2 separate regions of the Homo sapiens genome follow, and region 1 is linked to region 2. Evidence: promoter capture Hi-C in human tissues and cell types (Jung and others, 2019). All regions are on one chromosome and are shown on one strand. The core of a region is centred on a gene start or on the middle of the fragment in contact, and the rest is flanking DNA. Distances in the headings are between cores, read along the strand shown.

Region 1 (2,700 bases), core at 1-2,500, 57 kb before region 2:
TTTATTTTTTAATAGAGACGGGGTTTTACCATGTTCATCACGCTGGTCTCAAACTCCTGACCTCTAATGATCCGCCCACCTCGGCCTCCCAAAGTGCTGGGATTACAGGCATGAGCCACCACGCCCGGCAGGATACCAGGTTTTACTGGGTTCTTGGAGAAATTACGTGTCATATCCTGAAAACTCTGAAGCACTTGGCACAAGAAAGGAAAAGCAAGTCAGGTGCATGTAATGTGGGGAAAGAAATTGAAGTAGGTCTAAAAATGTGTGTATTGTTTTCCCTAAGTTATTTGCTTTCTTTGTTTAGGAACATAAAAGTAGATTCTGTGTAATTTAACTTGTGAAATAGGTTATTTGATATGTTTGGGAGGTTTGAAGACTGCTATCTTAGTTAAGAGAAAAGTTCAACTACTGCAACAGAGAAATCTGAACACCAGAACTTTAAGTAAGTTTATTTCTCATACAGTCATCGAGAATCTAGATCCCTGGCTTTCCTTTTTTTGCTCTGACATTCTCAAAATTTGGCTTTCGGCTTGTGGACTAAGAAAACACTTCATCTCATACCTCCACGTTCACGCTTCTTGCCAAGAGGAAGGGAGCAGGGGGAGGGAGAGCTGAGGGCAGACAGAGCCCGAAAGTCGCTCTCACTTCTGCACACATCCCGTTAGCCAGAAAGCAAATGGCCACGCCTAGGTCTGGGAGGGCTGGGAAATAGAGTTGTGATTCCATGTGGCCATTGCCCCAGCTGAAAACTGGGGGCTCTGTTACTATGAGAGGAGAAGGAAATAATAGATATTGGGGTTCAACTAGCAGTTTCTGCCACACTCCCAAAAAGTTTTGCTACATTAAGAAGGGTTTTTTTTTTCTTTCATAAATATACAGAAAAGTTCTTGATCAGTAAGAAGGGTTTCCGTATTTCCACATCACTGGGAGGATGACCCTGCCCTGCTCTGTGGCTACAGAAACTCTACAGGTCCCCTGCAGAATGAAGTTCATGCAGTTAGAACACAGATGAAGGCCAGGTGCCTGTAATCTCAGCACTTTGGGAGGCCGAGACAGGTAGATCGCCTGAGGTCGGGAGTTCAAGATCAGCCTGACCAGCATGGAGAAACCCCGTCTCTACTAAAAATACAAAATTAGCCAGGTGTGGTGGCGTGTGCCCATAATCCCAGCTACTCAGGAGGCAAAGGCAGGAGAATTGCTTGAACCCAGGAGGCGGAGGTTGCGGTGAGCTGAGATCGTGCCACCGCACTCCAGCCTGGGCAACAAGAGCAAAACTCCGTCTCAAAAAACAACAACAAAACAGAGATGTAGATGTGGGTAATAAGGGGTATTTCAACCAAACCAGGAGAGCCGGGGGTGATTTCTTGTCTTCATTCTAGGTTAACTTGCTTTTTAAAATTGGTTCTTTTATTCTGTTTCTTCTTTTCTTCTCTCCTTAAACATACAGAAAAGTAGGGAGAAGAGTGTGATGAATCCCACATGCCTATTACCCAGTTTTAACAATTACCAGCATTTTACTCATCTTAATTTATCTCCCTGGAATATTTTAAAGTAGCAGGCGGATCCCCATGTTGTATAATTCACTCAAGATTAATTTGTTTCACCTGCTGAATCCAGAGGTTAAGATCAAGGTCTCTGCCTTGGCCGAATGCGGAAGACAGCCACAAATGTCTGTCCTTTGGCTGTCCTTTGCTGGTCTCCACATCCCCTTGTGGATTATTATTCTTCAGTTGAAGTGTTGTGATGAGCAGCAACAGCTGTCATGTTAGCTAGGCATCCTATATACTTTTTCTCATTTTGCTTCATGATTCGGAGGGTAAATGTTACCCATATTTTATAGATGAGGGGATTGATGGTAAAACTCAAGAGAGGTTAAATAACTTACCTAGCTACTAACTAAAAATAACTAACCTGGAAAACCAGATCTGTCTGCTTACCGAAACCTGCACTGTTTCCTCTTTGTGACGCTATAGTTTATAATATTTGATTAAGGGACTGTTTTCATTTTATTTATTTATTGTTTAGACAGAGTCTTGCTCTGTCGCCAGGCTAGAGTGCAGTGGCACGATCTCAGCTCACTGCAACCTCCGACTCCCAGGTTCAAGCGATTCTGCTGCCTCAGCCTCCCGAGTAGCTGGGGTGCCCACCACCACGCCCAGCTCATTCCTTGTAATTTTAGTAGAGATGAGGTTTCACCATGTTGGCCAGGACAGTCTCAATCTCTTGACCTTGTGATCCGCCCGCCTCAGCCTCCTAAAGTGCTGGGATTACAGGCGCGAGCCACCATACCCAGCCAAGGGACTGTTTTCTTTATATCAGCTATATTATCCAACTGCATGGTAAATGTATTTTACTGAACTCACAGTCTTTGAACAGAAACCGTGTATGGTATAGTAATATTTTAATTTAAAACTTCTGGCCGGGTGCGGTGGCTCACACCTGTAATCCCAGCACTTTGGGAGGCCGAGGCGGGCGGATCACGAGGTCAGGAGATCAAGACCGTCCTGGCTAACACGGTGAAACCCCGTTTCTACTAAAAATACAAAAAATTAGCTGGGCGTGGTGGCGCCTGTAGTCCCAGCTACTCGGGAGACTGAGGCAGGAGAATGGCATGAACCCGTGAGGCGGAGGTTGCAGTGAGCCGAGATTGCGCCACTTCCTGGGTGACAGAGCGAGACTCCGTCTCAAAAAAAAACA
Region 2 (2,700 bases), core at 86-2,585:
GTGCTTTTAATAGTCCCACATTAGAAACACCCTAAATAGTCAATGGTAAGGAAGTAGATAAATAAAACTTGAAGATATAAAGGCATATCCATAGGATAAAATACTGCACGTTTATTAAAATTCATGTTGCAGAACATGTAGTAACACGGACAGACTTCTACAACTGGTGAAAAAAGTGTACAGTAAGAATCTAACCACGTAAAAATATATCAGTGCATATGCACCAAATGCACATTACGGAGTAGAAAGAACTCGTCTGGGGAGGGATCAAGGAGATACGTATTTTGTTGTAATTTCTGTACTTTCCCATTTTTCTACAGTATGAATTACTTTTGTGGTAAGAGGAAAAAAGGGAGAAAGCCCTCGGCTGTCCAGGAGCAGAGCTGGGCTGGGAGGTGGGGAGGGCCCGCGGACCCGTTCTCCCTGAAAGCCCCTGTCACAGTGGGACTCTGAAGGGCTCACCCACACGGGACCCTGCGCTCGGTCCTCACCACCAACGCCCGCACACTAGGCAGTGACCGGAGAGAGCTGGGGGACATGGCCTGCGCGCACCCCTCGCACGGCTAGGCCCGGCGGTGGGAGTTAAAGGGAGGCCGGTTCCAACTCGGCTGAAGGCAGGCCATTCTGACGGCTGCCCCCAGGAGGGCGGCTGCGAGGGCAGCGGTGCGCTCCCGGCACGGGGGTGCTCGAGCACTGAGTCCGGGCATGGAGCAGCGAAGGCGCCGCCTGCAGTGCCCACGGACCAAACGGGGGTGACCTCTGAGGCCGCCGGCAGCTCCGAGGTCGCGTGGGATCCGGGCTCCAGGCGCCTCCGCTCTGCCGCCCACCCCATCCCTCTGGCTCCGGGCCTCCGCGTCCTCCCACCACAGGGTGGGGACTCGTTGCGGTCCCTACCCAGCCCATACCTGTACGACGTGGTCACTGCTGCAGCCGCGTCCGCGTCGCCGATGGGCAGCACGTAGACCCCGCGGGCGCCGGGCGCAGGTGGCGCGGAGGACTGCGCGGAGGATTTGCCCCTGCGGCCGCCCGCCCCCGGTCCGCGCCCCGGCGGCGGATCCTTGGGCCCGGCGGGCGTGGTCCACAAGCCGAAGTCCCGCTGGTACTGAGTGAGCGGCACGTCCCGGCCGGAATCCCGGGCGCCCGCGGGAGGCTGGCCCCTGCGCGAGGCGGCGCCGCCCGTGCCCGGCTCCTCGCTGTCGAGGTCCGAGTAGCCGTGCAGAGTGAGCGGCACCGCCACGTCGGAGCGGTCCAGCTGGTTCCAGCGCCGCGCCAGGCAGCACAGGCGGCTGATACAGGGCCACGCCATGCCAGCCCCGGCGCCCGCCGCCCCGCTCCCGGCGCGCGGCGCTCCCGGCCGCGCCTCCTGCGCCCAGCGTCCCCGCCCCCGCGGCCCGCCCCGCGCCGCCGCAGCACCGCCCCCCGGCACGAGGGTGGGCGTCCCGGGAGGGGGCGCACTCGGCGGCAGCCCCACTTGGCCGGGGCCGGCTGCGCACGGCTGGAGCTGGAGGGAGCGCGGATGGGGGAAAGGCTGCACCGTCGCCAGGGGGCACCGGAAACCGCCTGCATTCATTTACAAGTGTCCATCTCGAAGAATGCCTCAGAATTGAATCCAAAGTTCCCTCAGTGTCATCTTATAAATGGCCCCGGCTTCGCAGAGGCCAAGGGCCCGATGGTCGCAGCTGGGAGCAGTCCGCCAGCCGGGAGGTTCTCCATGTGGCCTCGGGACGCCCAGCGACTGCTGCATTTGTGCCAGGCTGCACCGCATGGACTCCGCGGGCACAGGGGCAGGTGCAGCAATGAGGGTGTCAGAGAAGACTCGGGGCCCTGCTTCCCGGAGAACACGTGTTTCAGTCAGCCTGTGAGTCGCCGCCTATTTGCCTTTAGGATGCTAGTCTACATTTGTGACAACCAATCCACTTTTCATTAGAATTGGCATTAGCCACCAATCGACCTTTCCCTGGGTTCTGAAATTCCTAATTTTAAAGCATGGCCATTTGCAAAAGCTTTAGTTTGATAAAGCGGCCACAGAACTGGCCACAAGGCTATCAAGTTCCTTTCCTCCTGTGCATGCATGGCTGTTTTCAGGCAGAGCTGTTGAGGGATCCTCCAGCGTAAAGGCAGGTCTGTTCAATGCAGGACACCGTCTCAAACAACTCCCTGACCACCCACAAACGCTTTTCTGAATATTTGACACATGCTCTCGGTATACACTGCAGACCAATTACTAATAACACTACTGAGACAGCATTAATTACCCAGAGCTCCATTTCAAGGTTGTACTTGGAAGGTATCCAGTCTGCGCCTGGGAGGGGACTGCAGCACATCCCTGGCCAGTCAGAAAACAGATTCATCTCCCAAAACATTGCCTGTCTTAGCTTGAAGTTGTAGCAAAGTGACATGACGGCTGCCTAGAAGTGGCAGCAGGTCAGCTGAGCAGGCCAGGCCATGTCCCAGCAGGCAGCAGGCGAGGCGCCAGGTGTAGAGGGAGATCCTGGAAAATGACACACAGGGGCCGGGTCAGAGTGAACTCTTTGTGGACTGTCCGCCACGGCCCTGGGTTAGCCAGCCTGGCAGATGGCGCTTGGGACTAAAATTCTCCATCTCGCAGGAAAAGAGAGCAGCTCTCTTTTTATTACTTCATTGATCAAACAACAGTCAAAGAGCAGTTGCTATGTGCTAGGAATAATTCTGGGTGCCTTC

The links. Contacts are between HindIII fragments. The study calls those that stand out against the background at their distance.
Region 1: a fragment that was not itself captured here is called in contact with the fragment with the promoter of MAP6D1 in region 2 in 1 of the 25 tissues and cell types used here (pancreas).

Annotation. Positions count from the first base shown.
Region 1 is chr3:183,767,687-183,770,386 of GRCh38, forward strand. All of the region lies in intron 15 of YEATS2 (YEATS domain containing 2), which reads left to right. Among named protein-coding and RNA genes, the nearest start is that of YEATS2-AS1, 41 kb to the right of the region's middle. The HindIII fragment of the contact is 8,730 bases long and covers 1-2,700 here.
Region 2 is chr3:183,824,242-183,826,941 of GRCh38, forward strand. It overlaps MAP6D1 (MAP6 domain containing 1), which reads right to left and starts at 1,336. Exons shown (of 3, transcript NM_024871.4): 1 at 906-1,336. The coding sequence starts at 1,306. It also overlaps a transcript of PARL not described here. RefSeq lists silencers at 914-1,043, 1,064-1,133, 1,194-1,543. The HindIII fragment of the contact is 8,198 bases long and covers 1-2,700 here.